3 separate regions of the Homo sapiens genome follow, and regions 2 and 3 are each linked to region 1. The links are contacts of gene promoters, found by promoter capture Hi-C in blood cells and fetal thymus (Javierre and others, 2016). All regions are on one chromosome and are shown on one strand. The core of a region is centred on a gene start or on the middle of the fragment in contact, and the rest is flanking DNA. Distances in the headings are between cores, read along the strand shown.

What was found. Contacts are between HindIII fragments. The CHiCAGO score rates a contact against its expected background, and 5 or more counts as called.
Region 2: a fragment that was not itself captured here is called in contact with the fragment with the promoter of FMO1 in region 1 in 1 of 17 cell types (M1 macrophages); the score reaches 7.7 in M1 macrophages.
Region 3: a fragment that was not itself captured here is called in contact with the fragment with the promoter of FMO1 in region 1 in 1 of 17 cell types (total B cells); the score reaches 5.5 in total B cells.

The regions. Positions count from the first base shown.
Region 1 is chr1:171,246,398-171,250,512 of GRCh38, forward strand. It overlaps FMO1 (flavin containing dimethylaniline monoxygenase 1), which reads left to right and starts at 2,097. Exons shown (of 9, transcript NM_001282693.2): 1 at 2,097-2,226. FMO1-AS1 (FMO1 antisense RNA 1) reads right to left here. Exons shown (of 5, transcript XR_922278.4): 2 at 1,184-1,330. The HindIII fragment of the contact is 5,013 bases long and covers 1-4,115 here.
Region 2 is chr1:169,905,743-169,909,857 of GRCh38, forward strand. No RefSeq gene overlaps it. Among named protein-coding and RNA genes, the nearest start is that of SCYL3, 14 kb to the left of the region's middle. The HindIII fragment of the contact is 151 bases long and covers 1,704-1,854 here.
Region 3 is chr1:169,926,692-169,930,806 of GRCh38, forward strand. The region is part of intron 19 of KIFAP3 (kinesin associated protein 3); the gene reads right to left. Among named protein-coding and RNA genes, the nearest start is that of SCYL3, 35 kb to the left of the region's middle. The HindIII fragment of the contact is 1,057 bases long and covers 1,161-2,217 here.

The DNA.
Region 1 (4,115 bases), core at 847-3,346:
ATATTCTTTCAGAAATTTCTCTCTGCTTCAGTCCACCAACCTCTCATGGAATTTATTCTCTGTACCTGTGGGAGTCATTTCAGTGTTATGAACCAGCAATCAAGACACCTTATCTGGTCCAACAATGACAGCATCATCATCATCATCATTATCATCATTACAATCATACACAGTATTTACTATATATACACAAATCTCTTGACATAGATTATCTCATCTAATCCCCACCACAACTATCTGATGCAGATGTTATTATGCCTGTTTTATTTATTTTTTAGAATTTTTTATTTTATTTATTTCAATAGCTTTTGGGGGAGCAGGTGGTGTTTTGTTACCTGGATAAGTTCTTTAATGGTGATTTGTGGGTTTTGGTGCACCCATCATCTGAGCAGTGTACACTATACCCAATGTGTAGTCTTTTATGCATCACCCCCCACTCCAACACTTACCCCCAAGTCCCCAAAGTCCATTGTATCATTTTTATGCCTTTGTATTCTCATAGCCTAGCTCCAACTTATGAGTGAGAACATAGAATGTTCAGTTTTCCACTCCCAAGTTACTTCACTTAGGATAATGGTCTGCAACTCCATCCAGGTTGCTGTGAATGCCATTATTTCATCCCTTTTTATGGCTGAGTAGTATTCCATGGTATGTATATACCACGAATTATTTATCCACTCATTGATTGATGGGCATTTTGGCTGGTTTCATTTTTTGCAATTGCAAATTGTGCTGCTATAAACAAGTGTGTTCAAGTATCTTTTTTGTATAATGACTCCTTTTCCTCATTTTCAAGACAGCATCAGCTGCGGTAGTATAGGGAGAATGCAAGATTGCCCTAAGGTCTCCTGGATAAGTATTCGTGTTTCTCAGGCTAATAGTCAAAACTATTACAAAGTTCAGCTGGAAGTTTCCTTCTCCCTGTGGTCCTTCCTCAATTTCACTGGCAGCCCTCCTCAAGGACCCCTGTGAGATAAAGTCAGAAATGACTTCCCTGGGCACCAAGAGTACCTACAGGGCTCTTCCCACTGCTTCTACTTTTATATTTCGTTTTGCTCTCTAAATTCATCCCAGCTCTAGGTAAGGTTAAATCCTTCTCCTGTGATCTGGATTTTTAGGTTCCCTAGTGGGTTTGCGTGTTTGGAGGCAGATTTTTTCCCCCACTCACACTTTGGGCACTCACAGTTTTTCAGCTGTCTCATGGAGTTTGCAGCGGCAAGCCACTTCTTTCAAAGGTCCTGTGAATTCTTTTGGTTTTCCTGGTATGTTCATGCAGTACTTCTTGGAGGAAAATTTCACTGTGTGAGTCTCCACATGCTGTTCTGTCTGTCTGCGTGGAAACTGCAAGTTAGTCCTGCCTCCTATCCACCATTTTCCAACAATCTGTCGTTAACCATTTCAAAGTATAGAATTCAGTGGCATTTAGTACATTCATAATGCTGTGTAACCACAACCTCTATCCAGTTTCAAAACACTTTCATCACACCCAAAAGAAAACTCCATACTCATTAGCAATCCTTCCCCATTCCCTTCTTTCCCCAGCCCCTGGCAGCCACTCGATCATGCCTATTTTAAATTGAGGAAACTAAAGCTGAGAAAAGTTATACAATTTTTCCAACATGACTCTGATAATAGCTGGTGAACGCAATACTCGAACCCAGGACTTGTGATTCCCAAGATCAGACTCCTCCCATATACCTGTCTTTTATTTCCCAAGTGCTTGGGCAATCAGCTGCACTTAAAAAGCCTTTACAAATTGAGTTTACTAATGTGAGTAATATATGATTTTTTAAAAATAATAATTGTCCCTAAAGGTGAAATGGATCAAAGCCCTTAAAAGTGAATCTGTGGTGTAGTAACTGTTAACATAATTGTCTTATTTTATTCTCATCCCCTTAAAGAATAAAACTGATGAACAAGTGAGGATGCTGGTGTAACTCCCTAACTTAGTTTATAGTCTGTAAGCAGAAGAGTGAGTCTAAAGTACATATCACCAGACAGTGTTTCTCCTAGCATTTCGCTGTTGCATTAATCAACAAGTTAAAATATAAACAACGGCTAACCTTGGGTTTCAAATTTAACATTCCTTATCTCTTAGACCAGGTTTATCCACTGTGCTGGGGACTCCCAAGCCAGCACTGGCTCATACTGATTCATTTTGATCTCTGCTAATACCAGAGTCCTGCGTGGCAGAGCCATTGGCACCAGAAATTACAAGTACGTAAAGTAAGTAACCAGATATAATCTCTGATTTCTTTGGATGAGGAAAGTGGGGTCTGGAGTTTTCCTGTTTTGTTATTGTGCTCCAGGGAAGAACCACCTTATCAGAAAGCAGCTTTCTCTGTCCAACCCTGGAGGAGCTATAAAGCTACTCCTTGGCCCAAAGTATAGGAGTAGTAAATGTTTGGATACTTATAATGGGACAATATCATTGATTCAACCACTTAATAATCTACCCAGCAGTATACTTACCTGTCTTCCATGTACACAGGTAAGTATACTGTTGGGTAGATTATTAAGTGGTTGAATCAAATGGGAAAAACTTGGATTTCTAATGCAAGAGGAAAAGTCTCTTTTTTTTTTTAGTGCTTCCATCAGCAGCTTCTAACATTGTCTGAGATCATAGTTTTTGAAGGGTGACTACCAAATGTTGGCATTTGGCACAAGTGGGAAGCAAAAGGCAAGCCCCTTTAGAATTTGACTAATCTGTTCTGTCATGTCATCTTTTTTTCTGTTGTTAAAAGTGTTTCGTGCTTCATTCTATGTATTATGTCAAAATTTATTGATTTCCATGTGATTGGCACATCTTTTTTACTAATCCTGCTCCAGTTAAATTCACAAGATCATAAACATCAAGGGTTTGAAAATCATTTTTAGATATTCAGGTCTATGCCATCTGTTCTGCAGATGGAGAAACTGAGTCCTTGGTTATTAGAGTTTCCCCTGCATCCTAGGGAATCTGCTATGGCCTTGTAACTGGCACAGAGGACCTAAAGCCTGGGAGAATTTTTATTTGCTTGTTGTGGTTAGGAACATTTGAGTAAATGAGGAGCTGCTGCTAGAGGACAGAAATCCCAGAGTATGGCCCTCCTTGGACCCAAGTTTCTTACCAGCTGTGCTCCTTTGTTCCCAGGGGCTAAGTAGGCACCTTCACCCACCCCAACTGCCATCCAGCTGAATCTCTCTCTGATTACTCCTGAAATGTCACAACCCACTTGAGGATAGGGTATCATTGTGCAGTCTGTGCCAACCAGTATTCTGAAGTATTTTCATGCACTAAGGTGTAGGAGTGTGTGTGTGTGTGTATGTGTGTGTGTGAGAGAGAGAGACAGAGGGAGTAGGGAAGGAGGAGAAGATGGGGAATGCATAAATAGAGGGCTGGATACAAATCTGACAGTGCCAATGGCTTCCTAGTAAATGCATAGGTGAGTCACACTGGAAACAGTTAAACATTGGCTAATTGATACAATGCTAGCCTCAAATATAGTATAATATGCATTTTCTTGACATCAACAAATAAAATCTCCGGGTCAATAAAATAAACTCGGAAAATAAAACTCTTGCCCAGAAGTTTTCAACTTTCTAGGTTCAAGGAGCCCTTGGTGTGCAATTTCTTCAAGGTGCCCCCAGACCATAGTTTCTCCTATTAAGTAGACAAAAACTTAATAACTATTTATGTTCTAACAACTTTGTAGTTTTTTGAACAAGTAATATACAAACTAAAAGAAAAATAATATTTTTATTTCATTCTTAATCCCAATTACTTAATAATAAGGTTTATGTGCCTGCTGAGCACTGCACAACTTCTCAAACCTTGGAATCAGATCAGACATGAACCCTTCATTTCTATTCTACCTCAGTTTTCATGCAATACTTGCTTTTTGTCATAGCAATTGTCAAACACCCAGCTTTGCAAAGATATGATGTCAGCAAATGGAACACAGTCTTTTACAATATTAAAACTGTTAACTACTTTCAGCTAATACTTAGCATAGTGTTCAACTGACATCAAGAATCACTGTGCTTCTTCAAAATTTTAAAATAGCTCAGAGTGCCGCTGCAGTTTGGTAATGACAGGCGTCACCTCATGTTTTGACCTCTCATGATCTACTGTC
Region 2 (4,115 bases), core at 529-3,028, 1.3 Mb before region 1:
ACCGTTGGTGGGACTGCAAACTAGTTCAACCATTGTGGAAGACAGTGTGGCGATTCCTCAAGGATCTAGAACTAGAAATACCATTTGACCCAGCCATCCCATTACTGGGTATATACCCAAAGGATTATAAATCATTCTACAATAAAGACACATGCACACATATGTTTATTGAAGCACTATTCACAATAGCAAAGACTTGGAACCAACCCAAATGTCCAACAATGATAGACTGGATTAAGAAAATGTGGCACATATACACCATGGAATACTATGCAGCCATAAAAAAGGATGAGATCATGTCCTTTGTAGGGACATGGAGGAAGCTGGAAACCATCATTCTGAGCAAACTATCGCAAGGACAGAAAACCAAACACTGCATGTTCTCACTCACAGGTGGGAATTGAACAATGAGAACACTTGGACACAGGAAGGGGAACATTACACACCGGGGCCTGTTGTGGGGTGAGAGGAGGTGGGAGGGATAGCATTAGAGATATACCTAATGTAAATGACGAGTTGATGGGTGCAGCACACCAACATGGCACATGTATACATATGTAATGAACTTGCATGTTGTGCACATGTACCCTAGAACTTAAAGTATAATAAAAAATAAAAATAACAAACATTTTTAAAAGAATAAAAAGTATTTCTGCTTCTGGTAAAAAAAAAATAAAAGAAAAAAGAAAAAACCCTGACAGTTAAGCTAACCAAAAGGTGATGTTTCCTTGACTCACCCTCCTGGAGTCTAAGCCTTAGTGGGCAGCTCCATGTCCCACCTGGTGCAAGCTGTAATAGATATAATCTGAGGGGTTCAGCTTCATATTCATGTACTAGTGCAGTGCTGATTACACAGCAGACTTGAAACAGTAGTAAATTGTAGAGAAGAAGGAAAAAGAGCTGAACCTGTAAGAACTCACTCATCATTTCTGTCTCATTCTATTGGTAGAAGTGAGATACAAGGGAAGCCCAGTTTCAAAAAGTGAGGAAATAGAGTCCATCTTTTGATGAGAGGAGCTGGAGAATACCATGGTCACCTTTTTTAGTTACATATCTCCTTCTGCCACAGTTATTTACATCCCATCCACAAGCAAAATATGCTTACCTCCTCTGCCAAAAACCTCCTATCGTTATGGCATTAGGCTCTGGTTTAAAGTGTAGGATCTCATCATCAAAATCACATCCAGGCATGGATGAGGCTCTTTGGGAGTGGTGTTCAGGTTCTCTTCTAGTATGGCTCTTCTTGATCTAGAACCTGTGGACTGAAAGAAGGTACCTGCCATCTTGAACTCTCCACCCTTACCCAACATGCAACAGTGAGATGGACACAATAACCACAAAGGATACTCCCATGGAAACAGAGATGTGTAGTCATCTTGGGTTCATAGAAAATCTGAAATGGTGCCAGGAACATGTGCCAGTTCCCTTTACTCTAGGGCCAGGGAATGTTCCTTAGAGCTCATTTTTACTTCCTTTGAATAGTTTCATATTATACAATGGTGCTATAATTGTACAAGAGGTAATCCTGTAATAAATTCCATATGCTATATCACTCATAGTGGTTCTGTTTTTCTGATCAAACTCTGACTGATACAAGCCCAATTAAAAAGAGGTGCCCCCATTAGTCTCAGAATTTTCTTTAGTGGCATTACTTACTGGATTCTGGATCTTAGATCTGTGGATGATCCCTATCAGGTCAGGAAAGCTTCAGGAGCCACCAGTGGGATTTTGATGTAAGGGATTCCAGGGGATACAAACAAATTTATGCCCTTAGAAAAACAACCACTTTTGGTCCAGTTGGAGCTACTTGAGTTGGAAGGTCTTATGGGTCTGGTGCCTACATCGTAGCAACAAAGCTTCTAACTATATTTTGAAACAGATTAAACTGCGAACAGTCCAGAGTGATGGCTCAGATCTGGAGCGAATTAAAATATCAATCGTACTTTAAGGAAGGGGCCAAAATATTACACTCACAAGAAGGCGGCATGGCAGACACTGGGCCTCCACTATTCTGAAGGATGGCTGTGTCAACTGAGATCAAAGGGGAACCTGTGATAAGAGGAAAATACCCTGGTAGGATTTACAGTGGAAACACAAAGACTACTAGTGCGTCACGGATAGCAATGCCACCATAACCTGAAATAAAGTTAAATGCTAGGCTCTGCCTTCCCACCTACATGCCCTCAGAAAAGAAGGACCAAGCAAATTGGCACAATATATTTAGCTCCAGGTAGTTTCAATGCAGACAGTACAAGAAGCCAGGTGATTGGTGGGCTGCGGCTGATGGGCTGACTATATGGTCACATAGATGGAAACAAAATGCCTCGATAATTAGTGTAAACCCAGCTTGGGAAAAGTAACTATAGAAAGCCCTGCTGATGTATGTAGATACCAACTTGATGAGGGAGAGGTTTATAAATATATGAAATAGATGCTCTAACTTGAACCACAAGCCTATAAAAAGGAAAACTGGGACAATAGGGGTTATTTCCATCTCTGAATCCAATAGATTAGGGAATTAAATGAAGAATATAAAGAGGGTACTCCAACCACTTGGAGAGAATCTGAGGCACTTCCATACTGCATCAAGTGATGGTACACAACCAGATGCAGAAGAGGAAAATTACTTTTCAGAAAGGCTTGTGGGGTCCCTAATTGCATTCAGTTTTTCTTCTCCTTCCTCTAGCTGATGGGACTCAATGGATATATTCCCAAGGCAAAGAAGAAGCATTGCTAGGAGTTTTCCCTCCAATGAGGAAATGAGCTTGTCTGATAGGAGAGGATAGCTATTTAGGCTAGAATAAATACCTTCTATTAGTGTCAAACACTTATTTTGCAGGACTAGAGGCCTGATTACTCAGAGAGAGACTTGCATTAAAGAAATGGAAGTAGTACAGCTAGGTGTGGTGGTACGCACCTGTAGTCCCAGCTACTTTGGGAGGGTGAGGCAGGAGAATCGCTTGAACCCAGGAGGCGGAGCTTGCAGTGAGCCAAGATTGCGCCACTGCACTCCAGCTTGGGTGACAGAGGGAGACTTCATCTCAAAAAAAAAAAAAAAAAAAAAGCAAAAACAAAAAAACAAAAAGGAAGTAGTGGTGAAGGCAGAAACAGAAATAGGTAACTAAGAGACCAGATGACTCACATCTGGTGATGAACAAGCTAAGAAAAAAAGGCCTAAGATATAATGGACTAAAGTTATATTTACCCTTTGGTGACAATTTTGGCTACACTGTTACACTATATACACTATACTTTTAATTGTATTAGGGATGATGACAATATTTATGACCAGTTGTGCAACTCAACAGCCATTAGTGATTACCACTACGGCAGCTGGTTTTGTGTGTACTATATTGTGTGCTTGTAGGTACTCAGGATGGTAGCTTTTGCTGTTGCTACTTTTAGGTCAACCAATGTATCTGATGTGGAAGCAGAACCCCTGTGTCCTGTTGCCTGAACTACAAACAGTAATTGTAGTTACATTATAACATCAGCATCTGCCACATCTGCTGGAACAAATAATACAGATGTAGTATCTACTGGCACAAGAATTTCATGCTCACAACATCCTTGCTCTCCCATATAACCTGGACAGGAACCTATAACTAAGGAACCTATACCTAAACTATAAACAAGCACACAGCCATTTCAAGAAGTTTCATGTGGGAATTCCTGTGTATTTACTGGTTTCAGATACTGAAGATATACCTACCAGTTAATTTCCTATGAACTAGCAATTCTCAACCCTGGTTGCACATTAAAATCACCTGGCAGAATTTTTTTTGAAATAATTAAAAAAAATTTTTTATATGTCCAGGGCTGACTTTCAATACATTTCAGCGAGAGAGTTGCTCTGCTACATAGGAAACCCCAAACCCCGACCCAGAAGCAGGTCGTCTCTGAGTGATTCAGCGCCAGGTTCCCTACGAACGTGCCTTGTATGAAGGGCGTGGGGGTGGCTGCCTTTTCGGCTGCACCCCATTTCCCAGGACTAGGGGCTCTCTGCACCCGACCCGGTCCCGGTGCACGGCCGGGCAGCCCGTCGGGACCTGGCAGAACTTTTAAACCACGTGATGCATGTGTTCCATCCCCAAAGATGATTTAATTGGTTTGAG
Region 3 (4,115 bases), core at 439-2,938, 1.3 Mb before region 1:
CACACACACACACATTCAAAATTTTACTTATAACTACCATGCTAAATTTCATCTTTTTAGTCTGAGTCTGTCTTTAGGAATTCTATTCTTCCCAAGACAAAATCATTTATGACTACATATTTATAAATAGGCAGCAGTGATTTTTCTTAACAAACCAGTCTTTGTGATCCATCAGGTAATATTGAAGGCTGGAATTCTTTTGGAATTGTCAAGTGAAAGAATTTAACATGAGCTGTTATAGGAAGAAACTTTCCAGGATATTATAAAACTGTATGAAATTACTTCTTCATAATTTTTTGGAATAGTTCATTCTTTTTATCAATTTCTCTAATATATTGATTATAGAATCAAAATCAGTATGTTTATCTTTCTAAGTAGATTGTTAATTGATCATCAGGGTAATTTCAGCTTAAGTATGATTTGTCATGGGAAATTTAGGTCTATTGTAATAGTGACTCTATATACCATTTGCCCATCCATCCACCTATCCAAATAGTAGAAACATTTATTGAGTTCCTACAATGTGGTTAAGTATAGTTTTTGAAGCCAAGGAAAAAACATGGTGCTGGGAAGGCAATAACAAATACGACATAGTCCTTGACTATAAGGATTGGAGGCACCTAACATGGAAGAAATATTCTGATAATAACCTGATGTCATCCTACTGTAGCATATGTATAAATTGCTACAGAAGAAAAGAGGGGGGATAAATATTTAATATAAGAGTATATTAGAGACATGTACAAATTGCTACAGGACAATCTTGGCAGCTAGAAAGTCTTCATACAAAATACTTTGATTTTAATGCATCTGTTACCTCCTGACATATTTTGTTATTGTATTTCTTTCCCATTAGAAAATAAACACCATGGAGGGCAAGGAGTGTTTTGGCCATTGCTATATCCCTAGGCTCTAGTATTGTATCTGACATGGAGTGGGCATTCAAAAATTACATGAATTCATGAATGAATTAGTCTTAAAAGTCAAGTAAGATCTCACAGGCAAAGAGAGACAGAATTCCTGATGGTGGAGCAGCCTGAGCAACAGAGAGGAGTGGCTGACGAAGAGCAAATGGTTTGTTATGGTTAAAGTTTTAGATTTATGATATAAGCAAATGGCAGGAGATAAGGCTAGAAAGGGAGGTTAGGACTAGATATTGAAGCTTTTCATAAACCTGCTAAGAACTGGTGGCTACTGGAGAGTTGTCAATGGTTGCTAAGAAAGAGAATGACCAAATTCTATGTTTTAGGAAGATAATTGTAGTAGGAAAGGGGGTTGAGAGGCAAAATCATGAACACTGAAGAACCTATTACAGCTGTCCAAATGTGAAGTAATGAGAACCTACAGAGGGGTACTGGCAGAAATAACAATGATCAAATATGCTACAATTCACAACAATGTTATCTTTTCTCTTTTTTTTTTCTTTGAGATGGAGTCTTGCTCTGTTGCCCAGGCTGGAGTGCAGTGGCGTGATCTTGGCTCACTGCAACCTCTGCCACCCAGGTTCAAGCAATTCTCCTGCCTCAGCCTCCAAATTAGCTGGGATTACAGGTGTGTGCCACCACACCCAGCTAATTTTTGTATATTTAGTAGAGACTGGGTTTCAGCATCTTGGCCAGGCTGGTCTTGAACTCCTGACCTCATGATCCACCCATTTTGGCCTCCCAAAGTGCTGGGATTACAGGCGTGAGCCACTGTGCCCGGACCATCTTTTCTCTTTTAAAATAGTTTTTTTAGGCCAGATGCTGTTGCTTATGCCTAAAATCCCAGCACTTTGGGAGGCTGAGGTAGGCGGGTTGCCTGAGCCCAGGAGTTCAAGACATGGCAAAACCTCATTTCTACAAAAATACAGAAAATTATGCAGGCATGGTGGTGCACACCCATGGTCCCAGCTACTCATGGGTTTGAAGCAGGAGGATCACTTGAGCCCAGGAGGTTGAGGCTGCAGTGAGCCATGACCGCCACTGCACTCCAGCCTGGGCAACAGAGTGAGTGAGACCCTGTCTCCAAAAAAAAAAAAAAAAAAAAAATTAAAGTTATACCTTTACGAGTTGGGGACTGAGACTAAAGGAGAAGAATTTGAAAACTGGCTGGAAATTTTAAAGGTTATATTTCATTGGAATGGAGCAAATTTTGCCCCCTTAGTATGGGGATATGCTTCATCAAATAACTGAGATGCTGTGGTATTCCATGGAGATGAAATCAGATTGTAGAAGAAGCTTGCCCCTATCTTCTACAGGGCTGAACTGTTCTTGGAAAAGAGAATATTTTCTCCTTGAAATTCTTACAATAAGAAGAGATGTGCAGGTTGAACGAAATAACGAGTATAAAACAATACCTAACACTAGTAAAATGATGTACTACTACATCGAGATCTAAATGTTTGTCATTTATAGACCAACCACTAGATGGAGAGCTTGTCTTACCACTGAGTATCAGGTACTTCTACAAAATTTCAAAGCAAGGATTATTAAATTTAAACTTCTCAGCACATTTAACATTCATAGAATGTGGCATCCATTGCTGTCGCAGATAATTAATGTCCAGTTTTATGATTATGAAATAATTTACAGCTAAATAGAAATACCTATCAGTTACATGCAAAAAAAGTTTTGTGAATGTTGGGTGCCTAAGAAAATAGATCATAAGAAAAGAGGTTATAAGAAAAGATGCTAATTGTCTTGAACACTGAAAAATGTAACATGCATGCATGTTAAAGTGCTATTACTATAACATAGCTTCTAAAATTTTTCATTGAACCAATATTAATGGCATCTTGTTTCTATAAATCTATATGTAATAAATATATATTTTAAGTTGCTCAAAGGTATTACTCATTTCTTTGGACTTGAACTTTTGTATTGTTGAGAAAATAAAATCCAAGAGCATGGTTAAGCAGTCTTCTAATGAGTTTCACCAGCATATATCAAGTTTAGTTGTCATTTCCCATTTAGTTTTATTCTTAATCTTTTATATGCATAATTATAAATTTTCCTTTTATTACAATAAAACTAAATGGCTACAGCATCTTAAAGAATCTTATTCTTAATGAATTCAAACTAGTATTTTTTTTCAAAAATCAAGGGCAAATTATATGAGTAGTGGGAGGCTGTATTTAAAATACTCATCTGGAGTTTATTAAAAACATTTTTTGAAGGACATCTGTCAGTTCTAAGGGTGAAAAACAGCACCTTGGGGAAAAATCCTTTCAATTTAGTTACTACACTGAGATACTTCAGATAAAAACTAATTTGTACTAATGATGAAGGGAACGTGTGTAAAATAGTTGCACTGATTTATTCTAAATGGTAAAGAAATTCCATTTCATTGACTCTCCTCTAATTTCATTCAAGTTATACTTTTCTTATACATCTCAATCTGTTGATTAACCTGCCTCCAGAGTAATATTTTAGTGATTATATTTTAATGTGGAGATGTTATACTTGGTACTTTTTGATACTATATCATTGCATTAAGTTTTCTATTCCTTTTTATTAATTTACTTTTTTATTACATTTTATATAGTCTAATTGAGATTCTTCTATTAACTCTAATTCTTGGGCATCCTAACACTCTTGCTGTTAGAGCGCTTGTCGTGTACTGTCATGTACTTTACAAAGCTTTAAAACAAGGCTTATCAAATTTAAACTCCATGGCATATTGAACATTGATAAAATGGGATTTCCATTACATTCTGATGATTCTCTTTCATGATGGTCCTTTTTATGTTTTCATTGAGATGGCTGTCCTAAAACAATCTAAATGGCAATTTCTTGACTAAGGTTCCCTGAATTAAGTATACGGTGTAAATTCTGAACCCACTCATGTGCATGAAACAAGCTTGTGACTTCTCTTTCACATGGGTGACTATCTTCCCCTACCTAGGGTCTTTGAGCACAGACAGGTTTTGGCCACTTCTCTGGGCTGGTGAATTAACATCATTTAGTCCTCTTTTCAACTGATGAGAAAAAATTGAAATTCCAGGCTTTATTTAGAGAATTCAGTTCCATCTTCCTTTACCAAATAACTCGTACCTAGTTCAATATTCCGGTTGGTGTTTTTTTGTCATTGGGGTATTCCCTATCTTTCTTATGAACTTAGTCATATAAATTTCT